2 separate regions of the Homo sapiens genome follow, and region 1 is linked to region 2. The links are contacts of gene promoters, found by promoter capture Hi-C in blood cells and fetal thymus (Javierre and others, 2016). All regions are on one chromosome and are shown on one strand. The core of a region is centred on a gene start or on the middle of the fragment in contact, and the rest is flanking DNA. Distances in the headings are between cores, read along the strand shown.

The links. The method cuts DNA at HindIII sites, captures the fragments that hold promoters and counts their contacts. A CHiCAGO score of 5 or more calls a contact.
Region 1: a fragment that was not itself captured here is called in contact with the fragment with the promoter of LINC02118 in region 2 in 4 of 17 cell types (M2 macrophages, erythroblasts, M0 macrophages and 1 more); the score reaches 6.7 in M2 macrophages.

What each region holds. Positions count from the first base shown.
Region 1 is chr5:50,989,156-50,996,280 of GRCh38, forward strand. No RefSeq gene overlaps it. Among named protein-coding and RNA genes, the nearest start is that of LINC02106, 23 kb to the left of the region's middle. The HindIII fragment of the contact is 1,660 bases long and covers 1,149-2,808 here.
Region 2 is chr5:52,004,538-52,011,990 of GRCh38, forward strand. It overlaps LINC02118 (long intergenic non-protein coding RNA 2118), which reads left to right and starts at 3,494. Exons shown (of 4, transcript NR_147166.1): 1 at 3,494-3,541; 2 at 5,278-5,312; 3 at 7,034-7,065. The HindIII fragment of the contact is 14,911 bases long and covers 1-7,453 here.

The DNA.
Region 1 (7,125 bases), core at 729-3,228, 1.0 Mb before region 2:
TTAGAACTAGATTTCTCAGGTACCTTTTCTGTTCCAAATTTTTTCTTTCCTAGCAATCCATGTAATTAAGAGTAAAATCTGATACTATGTTCATTTGAAGAAATCTGAATCATTGATATTTCTTTCAATTCTAGGACAAAACAAATGTGGAAAAGATATTTTGAGGCATATAACACCGGTATTCTTTTCTCATTAGATATAATTACAGTAGATGTGATTTATATAAATATAATTCAATAAGTAAATGAGTGAGCTATAGGAAAAATTAGTTTTGGTCTAATTTTAGTTTTCAAGACCACTTTTCTGTCCTAGCTATGAGTTAGTTATGAACTTGATTATATGGGATTTTAGGTAAAAGAGTTGCATTTTGTGGTGAAATGAGGTGAAAGGGTAATCAATATGCCATAGGCAGAACTCTACTACAGTCCCCAAGATTCCTGGCCCCTGGTGCATACACATACACACACACCTTTTCTCAGTTATTCCAACACCAATCTATGTACTACTATGAGGGGATTTGCAGATATAATCTAGGTCCCAAATAAGTTTACCTTAAGATAAGGGGATTACCCAGGTGGGCCTGACCTAATCACATGATCTCTTTAAATCTGGATTTAGAGTTCAAAGATTAGAGACGTCAGAGATTTGAAGCATGAAACCAAAGCATTTCTGGCTTGACGATGGGGGTGGCCACATGGCAAGGACTGCATCTAGGTGTCCAGAATAGCCCCTGCTTGGCAGCCATCAAAGAAACAGGGATCTCAGTCCTACAATTGCAACGAACTTAATTCTGTCAACCACAAAAATGAGCATGGATATGTACGTTTTGCTGAAGCCATCAGATGAGAACAGCCGGGCTGACCAAGACCTTATCTTCAGCCCTTGCAGTACCCTGAGCAGAGAACTCAGTCACTTCTGTCCTACAAAACTATGAGCTAATAAATGGATGTTGCTGTAAGCTGCTAAGTTTGTAGGATCTTCTTACACAGAAACAGAAAACTAATACGTGATAAAATTAGTATCACATTTGTATTTAATTTTAGCTCATGGCCACAGCAAGAAAGAACAATGAACTGACTCTTGAGATCGTTTGTTTGATACACTAGCATGCAATCGTTTTTATCTAGATACATATTTGTCATGCTTCAAGCTTCAGGAACCAACAGGAACAATGTAGATGGCATTTTCAGTAATACACTGATCGCTCTGCTCAGAAACGCTATCTAATCAGTGGAAGAAAATCCAACATCTTCTAGGCGGTTCTCTCCCCAAATGTTTCTGAGATGCCCTCAGTTGTGAGGGCTGCGTATGTGTAATCCTGTGGTTGGGTGATTAGCACGGTGGCTTTCCCTCTCAGAGTGTCAGGGCCCCTTTCTGAAATGCCACATTCCTTTATTCCATGCCCACCTTTGTGTTGCTGATCTTGGGCCATGTGCACCGATTGTTAATTTCTTTCAGGCACCTGCCTTTTCCACTGCCTGTGGGGCCCTGTGCAGTCTGTTGCTTGCTCCGAATCGTGCGCAGAACACGCAGGGTGTGATCTCAGGCCGTGGCCTCTGTACTTTCTCTCCCTTCCTTCAGCTTTCACAATGTGCCGCTGGGTCTCTGCAGCTTGTCTTTCTGTTTCTGGCCACTAGCACAAATCTTTTTCTGTTTCGGATGGGAGAGGCAGGAGAAAGGGGGTGATGAAGAGTAGCGCTTCATTGACCTCTAGGGATGAATTCTGGCTCTTTTTGGCATAGCCGTTGACTTCCTCAGAGTGTCAGGCTCTCCAAAAAGATGGGGTCCGGGGTGGTCAGGGACTGCCTGAAAGCCTTTCTACAAGCAACCAGGCCCACCTGCTGAGTCTAGCTCCCATCTGCCACTACTCACAGGGGTTTCCCCCTCAGAGGCTTAGTTTTCCTCTCTGAAATCCATTCAGCCATGTTTGTGTGGGTCTAGATTTCAATGATAGACACACCTTAGTCCTTTCCCATGAACTCCTGGCTTCAGTCAAACCAAGGAGGTGATTGGACATTTATTTGAGTCCCAAATACTTTATGATAGGAATTTGTTCACTAAAAACATAAAAAAGGGAGATGGGGGAGCAGTGTGAGGGCTGGGGTTGCCTAACTCTACCTACAGCTAGCCTGGCTGGATCTGAGGGGCAGTCAAGCTAGAACAACCATAACTCTTATTTAAATAGCATTTCTGAACTTTATCTGTAGACAAGCAACTAAAAACATAGCCTACACCTGGTTCCCCAGTGCAATGTGAAAGACTTCAGAAACTAAAAAATATTTATGAATTGCAAATATACATGCAATTACTAATGATTTCCACTTGATTGCAGTTCTTAGCTTCTAAATTTAGAATTCTAAATAATCAATCATGGACAGACCATCACTTTGTTAAATTTCTGTCACGACAATTAACCAGAAATGAACCATTGTTTTGTTTTGCTTTCTGAGAAAAGGGCATTTAGGAATTAAGTTTACACTGAGTGGATATAGTTGCCTTTGTTGTGCACCTGCAGTGTCTCTAAATGTAAGTAACTTCCATGGATTTAAACCTCAGGGTAAACTTTTACTACAGATGAATTATCTGTTGAGTTAGGAAGTAAAGAGATTAAACAATAAAAGAACCCATTTTACCATTGTGCACTTCCCTATGTGCTTTTGTGGGAAAAATAAATATCATAGGATAAAGGGACAGAAATGGATTATGGTAGAAAATAAATACAAAACAAAATGCAAGTGACTCTTCAGCTCTCAAAATGTCTCTGGCTTGAAAGGCACAGAGTCTGTTTAAGGTGTTCATTGTCTTGAAAGCTTTTTAATTTTTTTTAATTTTTAATTTTTTGAGTACATGGTAGGTGTGTATATTTATGGGTTCCATGAGGTATTTTGATGCAGTCACTCAATGATAATAATCACATCAGTATAAATGGTGTATCTATCATGTCAAGCATTTATCCTTTGTGTTGAAAGCTTTTTTAAAAAACATACATTTTATTGAGATATACTTTATATTAAATACATTATTTTGGCCAATTGAACTTAAAAAAAAAATAGTACCTGGTACCTTTAAAGGCAACTAACAGAGTTAGACTTAGGACTCTATTTAATTGTTTGACCCTTTCCCTGGAAGATAGTTTTGTGAAAGGATTAGCTTTGGCACCTTAAAACTACATTATTCTCTGAAAAATACAGAAAACATTGATGCAAATACTTATTCTTTAGCACAGCTAAAGTAGAATAATCACCTCTATTTTTGTTCATTAGATTACACGTTTAAAAGCTGTATATTAAATACCTAGTGACATTGTTATTTTTCTACTGTTATTCTTGGAAACAATCTTGTGAAGAATTTTTCTTGGCTCCTTTTGAGTTTTTCTTTCTCCCTCAAAATGTATGTGATAATTCATGTGCATGCATTCATATGTATATATTATCAGTTTGAACTGATTACATATTTTACAACCAACTAGATTATGTTGGTCTCATCATCTCACACATACTACCTTACCTCACTCATTACTCAACATACTGGCCCAAAAAGCTGCAATATCACACACAAATGCACACACACACACACACACACACGCAAACAGAATCACACAAAAAATAGAAGCCAAAAGAAATGGTGATGAGGTTTAGAGTTGTCATTGTCCCAGACATTCCTAATACTTTATAAAAACAAAAGTAGTATGTCTAATTTCTGCTTTAGGGTTGTTAAGTTGGATAAAAATAAGTCACCTAATCTTGCAGCTTTACTAAAAGTATAAGAGAAAAAAATGAGCTTTTTTCTTATCATTCATGAATCCAAGAATATTGGTGTGTGCAGTTCTGAGAAAACCCTTTTGTGTCATAAGTTTCAGAGTCTGGTCAATGTAAAAATAATTCTATAAGCCCTGTATCTACTGTCTGAAGCAACTATCACTTCTACACATGTTTAAAAAATCACTTATATCTGAGTTTTAAATCACTGAGACATGAAGTAGAATTTATTTTGTGTGGCTTCCTGGTGCCAATGACTCTATTCTTATTCTACACAGCGTTAGTATTGTATTACTGAATTAGACCGAAAATGCAGGATATGTTGCTGTAATCAGTGTCTTGCCATTAATCACTTCCCTTGTCCCTTTGCCTCACCATCACTCCTTCATGGCAATACCTTAGGGGCTATTTCAATTTTCCACCTCCACTGGTGGATCTCATGACCAAAGGGCTTGGTGCTGTGTGAGTCAGGGTCCAGATAGAAAATAGAAACCAATATCTGTATTTAAAACAAGGGAATTTCATGTGAGAATTGGTTAGCTAGAACTGAAAAACCCACCTGAAGTTGCAAATAAACTCATAGATGAGCAAGAACAGGAAATCACGTTGCACTAGGCTGCAGGGACAAAGGTAGGAGGGCTATTATCAGAAAAAGGGAATGTCTAGGATAGATACGACATTAAATAAAGTTTGAATAGACACAAAAAGCATTAAAGTATTAAGTAATGGCAACTGGAACTTTAACAACACTTCTGTCCTTCTGTAGTCTGTTGATATAGATTGGATGTGTGTCCTCTGCAGATCTCATGTTGGAATGTGATCCCCATTGTTGGAGCTGGGGCCTAATGGGAAGTATTGGTTCATGGGGGCACATCCCACATAAATCGCTTAGTGACATCCCCTTGGTGATAAGTGAGTTCCTTCTTTGAGTTCATGCGGGGTCTGGTTGTCTAAAAGAGTATGGCACCTCTCCCCAGCTCTCTCTTGCTCCTTCTCACCATATATCATGGTAGTTCCCATTTGCCTTCCACCATGATTGTAAGTTTCCTAAGGCCTCACCAGGAACAGGTGCCAGCACCATGCTTCCTGCATAGTTGTTCACTCTTATTCTTCAGAATGGCTACTGCAAATATTGTCCAGATGTCAAAGCTCCCTACTCCACTCTGTGCCCCTCCTACACTCAACTTGTTAACTCTTTGCTCCCGATGCAAACTCACTTGTCCTTTCTGTCACCGTGGATGTCTCTCTCCTCCCAGTGCAGTTACCCTCCTGTGATTTGGTTTCCATTTCCTTTCCTTTCATTAGGAACTTTAGATCATTCATTTTAAACTCTCCTCTGTGTCCTTAAGTTTTTCCACTAGTCATTGGTATCGACATTTTAACATGCTCAAGTCTCCTCTATTTCTCCCTCCCTCCAAAAAAAAAGAAAAGAAAAAGAAGAAGAAAAGGCCCACTCCCCCATCCTCCCACTCACAGTCAAGATTTTGCAAACATTGTTCATCCTGACCTCCCATTCACTTCTCAGCTCGCTGGAGTCAGCTCACTGCACTGGATTCTGAATCTTCAGCATCCATTTACATATACATGTAAATCTCTGATTTCTAGTTATCGCTTAGCTTTCATATCAAGAAGCAGAATTGAAGGACTCAGAAAAATACTGTAGTGAATAATATGTTACTGTTTAGAGAGAATCTTCCAAATTTTAGACAGATGCCTTGAGGCTTAATTCAACCCCTTCTCCTTCCACTTTCACCACCAATAGGCTGCAGAACAGTAATTCACTAAGTGAGGCTTTGGGACCTGCAACACCATCACCTAGAAGCTTATTAGAAATACAAAGACTCAGAATGTACCCTAGTCTAGCAATCTGGACTTTAATAATTTATTCAGTTATCCGATGTATGCTAAAGTTTGATAACTACTGAGGAAGGGAAAGCTCTTTTCAGGAAGGAAAAGAAAGTGGAAAATACCAAAGACAAGAGGTAGAGGTAGAATAAGGTTGTTAGGTATGGAGGGAATGGGGAACATCTGGGGCTGAAGGGTGGGGACAAGGGGCATCAAGGGCTGAGGGGTATAGCAGAAACCACCAAGGAGTGATGAAAGATCCTTAGAACGTTACAAGAAGGGTAATAGATGAGTTGGGTGCTTCTCCAGGCAAAACCCTTGGAGGAGATTCATGCACCATGACAAACTGTGGCTCTGAAGAGGCTGTGGCCACAAATGCATTGCAGCCAATGCCTAAATCCCAAACCCACCTTGGTGAGCTGCAAGTACAGCTGGAATGCTAGACCATGTGAACGCTAAGGACAAGAACAGGCAACCGAGGGCACATTCCTTGGTGACTAGAATCAGTTTTCATGGCTGGTTCTGAGCAGTAGTGAATGTTTATATTTGGCCAAAGGTCCATATGCAAGCAGACATAGCTTGGTAGTGAACAGTGCTAGTGCAGAATAAAGTAGGTCCCCACTGCAGAGACAAGAGTATATGAGTAAAGATCTAAGTTATTTCTTCCCCTCCACTAGGAGGACTCAGTAAGCTTGTGTACACTCCCACATCCTAGGGAAGGATAAAGTTGGGGAGGAAACTAATTTGAAAGACTAAAGACTTTATTTGAAAGGGACTTTTGTCAAATGTATTAAGAAACTGTAAACTAGAAGAGCTTGTGTTGTCATTAATTGGAAAGCCTAGGTTTCTCCATTTCTCAGTAGGGTGAGAACTTGTGGAGATGTTTGGATAACTGATGAAAAAAATAAAGAAGCCACTTTTTCTTTGTATCCTGAGGATGCCGGAACATCACCTTTCTTGGTGTCTGCTGCTTTGCACGCTGTTTGCCACTCCTCCCTTGAATGCTTTCTCCCCTTGGCCTCAGTAGCACCAGACTTTCACTGCCTTCTCCTACCTCTAGGATAACTTCTTCTCCATTTGCATAATAGATTGGTCTTCCTCCATTAATTCCTAAAATATTGATATTATACAAAAAGTTATGTCCCCACCTTTTCTCTTTATGCCTCGCAATCTTTGTGTTCTTATTCTTATAAACACAAAATGACTCTGGTGTCCTCAGAATCCAGTCTTCAGTTCAGGAAAAAGGAAGAAAAGAGGAAAGAATAAAGAGGAAAGGCAAAATAACTCTACCTGTGAAGCCTTGCTTTTTTATTTAGAAAGGTAAGCGCTTTCCAAGGAATTCCTGTCTGTATCTGAACAGTTAAAATTGTGTCACATGGGCATTTCTAGCTGCAAGAGTTTTGGAAGGTAAGTATTACAGCTTGGTTTATTTAAGTTAACAGAAAAAAGTGGAGCAGAGGGAGAAAAGATTTTAGGTAAGAAACTGTTAGTGTCTGTCTCAATTCATTATAATCAGTTCTTC
Region 2 (7,453 bases), core at 2,244-4,743:
AATTTATGAAAAAGGACTTTATTCCTAGTTTAAGGAAAATAATTTTTTTTTTCATTTTTGTGTCCAAGAGCTTTTAAGAGTGTTCATGAAGTAGGAATTGTAATGCCTACTTGACTGGCTGGCTGTGAATAAGATATGTGATGATATGTGAAAACTACCACCAATATGCCTAGAAAATTTAGGTGATCAATAAATACTTATTTCTCCACCTCATCTCCACTATGTCCCCTTCCTTCCACCTTACTTTTCTAATCTGCCTCTTATTTGGACCATTTGAGGTTAGTATTTTACAAGACATATTACTTGGTGATTTTCAAATATCCTTATTGTCTACCTTTAATTGCTTAAAGTGTTTCATCTTAAGCAAGCTATACATTTGACTATTTTACATAAATAAATATTGTTTTTTAAGTCCTGTATTCCAAATGCCCCTGGGTCATTTGAACTATACCAGATCACACATAGTTCTCCAAATACGACATAAACTTTGACGATGTGCTTCTGATCATTCTGCTTATATTTCCTGGTATGTCATTAATTGCTCTATTGCTTTGGTATTCAAAGTATTTGAAAATATCTTATTTTTGACATTTATAGTACATTCAAATAACTTTTACTCTCTGATAAATAATGACCTTTTTCAGAACAGGGATCATGTTACTTTCAACTTTGTATCTTGGGTGCATAACACAGAACCTGGTCTTTATTAGGAATGCAATAATGGATTGTTGAGTAAATGAGTAAATTAGACCACCAACTATTAACCAAATATAGAAATCAATGAGAGCTGTGAAGCCATGCACCAACAAAGTAGGTTTAAACCTTTGATTAATGTCCTGATGTATGAAGGATGGGATTTAGATACTCAACATACAGCAAAAGTGTACCCAAGATGGTGTGGTACTATCCCCAACTCCTCTCTTTTACCCCTTCTAATCAGGAATCATACCACAATGCAGGTGAGTAAGAGTTATGATCTTTAGAAATAAACCATGAATATGTATTTTAAAAAATAAGAAAATCATTTCTAAATTTTTTGTAATTCCTTCAGAGGTATGCTTCTAAAAGGAAATGATTATGAAGGAAATTGTCTCTATAATGGTTAAATGCACTACTGTTTTTTACATGAGGAAATATTTTTGTTTAAGCACAAGACAGAGTGGCATTACATTTCCTGGAATTTATTATTAGTCAATAATAAACTGACTTTGCCAGTAATGTTATCTTTCATTCTTGGAAATTCACAATGAATGTTGAATGTTGAAGTATCTGAAAAGTCTTGCAGTTGAGATACAGCTTGGTAGGGATCTGAAAAGCATATGTATTAGCTACATACCAATTATAATCATTTTTTACCTAAGAAAGTCCTGAAGTTTAACTTGTCTACACTTTCAGTTAAACCTTTGATTTTCTAATATTGATCTAGAAAATGATTTACTAGAAGATTCTCAATTATAGAGGAGTCCAGCTTTCACCCAGAGGAGGAGAATGTAGAAGCTGGCTCCATATTAGGAAAGCATTTTATTAGTTTGAGATAATTTTAGTGCCCAGGTATATACTTCCATAGTATATTTTGTCTATACATGCATTACATTTATTTACTGTCCTAACAGAGGAGAGTTGAGCAGAATATATGACTTAATAGTACTTATCATCTATCTTATAGTACTAAGTTTAATTCCTTTTTATAGTGTTAGGATTGATTAAGTTACATTAAGCTATCAAACAAGTCCAAAATCTCAGTGGCCTAAAACAATAAAGATCTATTTTTGGACCATGCTACATATCTGTTCTGGTAAACTAGGGATTTTCTTCCACTTTGACTTCACCAAATGATTGAGGCTGATGAAGAAGCCACAGTTTGGAAACTATCATTTTGACAATTCCATGTTTCTGCTTGGAAGTGACATAGATCACTCTCACACTTGTTTCTTTGCTAAAGTAAGTCACACACACATATGACATCAAGGGAACAGGGAAACACACATTTCTCTTTTACTCAGAAGTTAAGAAGAACCTAATATTACCTAACAGTAGTAATGCTACCATATTAGTCCATATTTATGAGACTATATGCCAAATTAGAAAATAATTACTTAAAATAAAATAATAGATTTATTTAAAAACAAAACAAACAAAAAAACATGAGAAGACCAAAGACTGCACCTAGCCTATGCTGTGGTTGTTTGGAAGAATGACATTAAAATCCCAGAATGACAGCAGTAACCATTATATTACACATCACTTAGAAGATTTTACAACAAAAATCTAGTATCACAGCATAGCAAATATTCCTATAAACTTTCTCTCCACAGATAAGGCATTCTGATTGCTTTGCATTTCCCCATAAAATCTATTTTTCAAACTTTGCACTGAGAAACACTTGTTATTTTGCAAAAGCCTTTACAAAACCTTCAACTTACAATTCCTTAATTGATGGGATAGATATAGCGGAGAGTCACATGTAGTCCACAGAATCATTTAAATTTTCTGCCTTAAACATATTGCAAGGGTGATAACATTTTACAGGTTCTCATTAACTGTCTTGATAGTGTTATAAATTGATGTTTGGCAAAGAGCAGTTTCTAATATACACGAATAATTTGAGAAGGATAGTGGAGATGGTATACTTATATCGCTGTACATATATAACTCATGAAAAGGAAAGATAAGGCCCAAAGAATGCCTGATTTAGTTTGGTGATGCAAGGTAAATCCACTAAGATTTGGTTTACTAAGAGCATGGAAAGTATTCTAATATACAAAGAGGTTTGTTCTTTTGTTGAAGTTTTGAACTTTTAGAGACAGAATCCTTGGTGTTAATTTAGACAAGCTGCACATCCCAAACCTGCACTAGGACCTTGGTTAGCTGCATATTCTGGGGGAAGATTGCCACCTACTGGAATACCAGCAGCATTCCCTCAGGTTTTATGGTCGATGTAAATATGGCTCCTTTAAAATAACATACCTTCCCACATTTATTTCAACGCAAACTCCTAGATATGAAATTAGTGTATTCTTCCTCTGAAGTAAGCTCAATATGACCTGCTCCAACCGTCAGCTGCTAATCCTCCCTGTTCCAGGTATCAATCCTACAGTTCTTTGGGGGTATGATAGACGAAGTTCTGGTTTTCTTAATTGCCAGGTAGGCATCAGTTGATATCCTGCCGCAATCAAACCCAGCTATTACCTAATAGATAACCACTCTAAAAGAAAAAAAAGTAGCATGATATTTAAAAAATTTGAATGCTTGGAGCAGTTTTACTGTCTAAAAAGTGTTCACCTTTGAAATATGTTTTTGACCACATATTACAAGTTTGTGAACAAGAAAAATAATACTACAATTTAAAATGTATTCATATAAGCAGCAAAACTGTTGGTGATTCGTCTAGGCAAATGGCATACAGCCAAAATTATACTTTTCCATTCTGTTGTCACAGTGTGGACTTTTGTAACATAGCAAGGGATTTCAATGCCATCTTTTGAGTATTGAATGAAGGGTGAATTTGAGACCACTTACAACTCCATCATCAATTTTAAAGGTAAAGTTGTTATAAATGTTATTGGGTTGATAAAACTTAATGGTTTGAGCAGATGAGCATACGGAAAGGTGAGAAGAGGATTTAAAGACACAGAACAGCAGCATGAGGAAGAGTGCCAACTGGAGGAGTAGATCCATAATAAGAGAGGTGACTGATAAGAGAAAATGGGATAGGAGTAAGGGATTAAGGATAGCTATTGGAAATGAAGGTAAAAAGCTGAGATAGTGTCTATGGAGGAGGCAATGTGATATAGAAAGAACAAAAAAGCCAAATCAAAACTTTGGAATTGCATAGACCTGGGTCATCAGCAGGTCTGCTTCAACTGCTACAAGCTGAGAATAACAATTTCCCCATACTTTTTACTTCTATTAAGTTAGAGAGTATCTATGAAACACTGAAGCTCTTGAAATATAGAGTAAACATTTTTCATTTCAGTAAAGAGTTTAAAAGAAAAATACAAAATTAATAAAGATGAAAAGGAAGGTCAATACAAAAGAACTTCAGAAAGAAGAGCTGAGATGAAAAGAATTAAAATAGCAATAGCGATAAGAAAAATCAGATCTTGATGAGAAAATTGATGGGGTAATAAAAACAGTAATTGTTCAACACGATGCCCATATTATCAAAAGAAAGTAAAATATGCAGGCAGACAACATTTGCATTGGCCAAACCACACCAAATAAACAATTTAGCTATTCGCATGACTTTCTATCCACGTGAAAGAAATTTCCATTTATCAGCTGTAAATTTTTAACTCACTTCTCTTTGAGCTACACTTTCACTTTTCAACAACTTTCTGGACGTTTTGGTTTAAATGCCTCACCAAAATCTTCAACTCCAAATGTCAATAATGAAATTTTGTTGTCTTCATTATTAAATTTGACCCTCTCTCCCTGATTCTTTTACTTGATAATTAGCATCACAATTCTCCCAGGACAGTGGCCACTTAATTTAGTACTTCTACTTTTCCTCTTTCTCTCTCTTCACCTTTCCCATGTGGAAAACCACATACCATATTTATGGTAGTGATAATGATGAAAACTAGAATATATATATTATTTTAGAATTTATCCAACATTATTTAAACTTTTTCTAAAGATTCTTCTGCTGAATCTATCTCTCTATATCTGTTTGAATTTTTTCCCTTAAATTATATGCTTCTTAACATGTCAAGACCTTCCATGATCTTATACAACTTGGTTTTTAGATTAATTTTCTTTATATCTTCCCAATATCCTGTTCCAACCTGTTTTTTCTCCAAGATAACTGGTTTTGTCTTTCTCCCTGGGTATTGAAAGCCCATTCATATTTCAAGACCCTGATTTGATGCTATTTTCTCTATGATCATTTCCCAGTAGCAGGCCAGCCACCCAGAAGTTGCCAGATGCCAGTTTCTTCTACCACTCAGAACATTACTAGAATTAACTGGAGTTGTTTCTGACCAAATGGATACATATACACACACATATATGTTCTCAATTACTCATAGTGATTTAAATTTAATGTTATTAAGAAATTCATTACATTGCTACTTTGAGGCCAAATAATACATAGTGTAACCCTGCTTATTTGAAATTAGTGATCTATTTTATAATCAAAATGTTAAGTCTTCCCAAGTTAGTTATCTGTTTAGAGCAGGAATTTAAAAAAAAAGAAAAAAGAAAAGAAATAAAGAGGTAATAGGGACCACATAGAATTGGTTAATTGTTTTTTTTTTTTTTTTTAATTTCTTTCAGAACAGTGACTCTTCATTGGCCAGTGGAAGAAATTAGTAAGTGAATTTATTTCTGTACATAATATGTATGAATAGAAAAAACACTTTCTGTCGGTATCCACTAAGTAAATACTGAACAAATAATTAATATGTTTTGAAAGACCTTGACTGTATTAGGCTTTGTAATGTTTAGAGTCCTCTTAGTTTATGTTTCTTATATTTACTGTTTTTTTTTTTTTAAGAGTTTAGCATAGGTTTGCCTTTTCCCCTAAGTCTTAGGAAGGCAGATTTTCTGTCTTAGACAACACTGTGGTAGAACAAAAATATGAACAATTGAGACATGGAAGTCAAGAACAATACTCTCCATGTTAGTTTCTGGGCGCACAGCCTAGTAAAAATTGGCATTTTGTCTTATGGTTATCATTGGTGATATAGATGAAATGAGTTATGAAGACTTAACAATTAACCTGAATTTTAGGTTATTACACTATCACTAATGACATAAAATACTCAGGACTTCATACACACACACAAACACACAACAAATCAGACTTAAAGGTAGAAACAAACTCAGTCTATTTACTCAGTAAAGACTATTGTGTTCATAAATGCAAGTGTTAAAAAACGAATATACCCTCAAAGCAGCTGTATGAGTTTTTTAGTATTTTTTTCTGAATTTTAGATTTATAAAAACCATGTCTCAGCTGCTACCTTTCAACAATTTTACTCTGAGGCAATAAATAATTCAATGTGCTAATTTGACAGATGACTCTCCAGGAGCCTCCTACCATTACTAGCATCATTAGGCCATAATATGCATGACGAGGATGGGCCATTCAGCAAATGTCCTTCACTTGTTTACCCCTAAAGAGCTGTGCTCTGCACAATTAACTAATGAAGCATTATGGGCCTTTTTTTTTCTTCCCTGCTATTTCAATATATCAGTGCAAAGAGTCGAGGGAAAATACAGTCTGTTTCCTTTGGCTAGATCAGTATTTATGGGATGGTTAAGACTGCACTGTAGCTCCCAGATGAATAAGGTGAAAATAATAAGATGGTCAAAATAGATCATTGCCATCATTATTATTATTTCCTTTTCCTTCCATGATTTGTGAAAAAAATGTTAAAGGAATTTGGTGTTGAAATGCAAGAACGAGATAAAAAATACCCAAAACAGTGCTCAAATTTTCTGCTTAACATTTGCTGATTATCAAGAATTTGTACACTGTCCTCATCAAGTTAGGTAATTTTATGTTCACCTAAAACCTTGACCACATGTTAATTTTCTCAGATTTCTATTCAAGTTTAAAATTAAATTCCAGTTAAAAAATATTGAAATAAGAGTGTGAATATGGGCTTTGGTGCATATGAATCTCCTCTTACCATCCAATTCAACAAGGCATGTGCCTACAAAGGTTCAAATGAAGTCACTAAGTCCACGTCTAAACAGTTTCATCCTGCAAAATTGGGTTAAACAAAGAAACCTCATCTGACTAGACTGCTGTTACTGTTTCAATGAATTATTTGATTGCCAAGACATTTTGTTGCTCAGAAAAAGTGGCTTAAGGTAGAAGTGAGTTTAGGGACCTCTTTGTTGCATTTAGAGTGTATTATAGGTTCTTAGTTTAAAAATTATGACATCCTTTACCATTCCTAGTATTGTTTTGTGCTTTAGAGTGAAAAAAATGAACTCTGCTCGAATCATGTCAATTGACATAATAATTGATAGGTCCTAGGAAAAGAACAGTTACATTCTTCTCTTTCCAACCTTCATCCAGACCCACAATGATGTTGATGCTATTTCTAAGAGGTAAGAGTCACAACTATTCTTCTTAGATGTAAAACTATTTTATCCAGTTGAAAATATAGTTTCAATGATAATTATTATAATGCTTCTTTTTCCCCAAAGAAACTAATAATACATCATAACAATCATTGTGATATTAATAATAATTAGATAGCTATAATTTATTAAGTGCCAGTTTAGTCTGAGCCCTTTGTTACATGCATGAGAAACATGAAAAAATGGTGTGAAGGGCTCGTTGGTTCTTTTACGAACTTTGAGGTTAGAAAAATTTTCACATTAAAACAGGAAGAGAACCATTATATTTTAAGAGTTCTGTAGACAAATTCTGGTATATTATCAATCTCCTGTCACCTTTATGGGAATGCTCAAAATCACTACTACTATATACTTC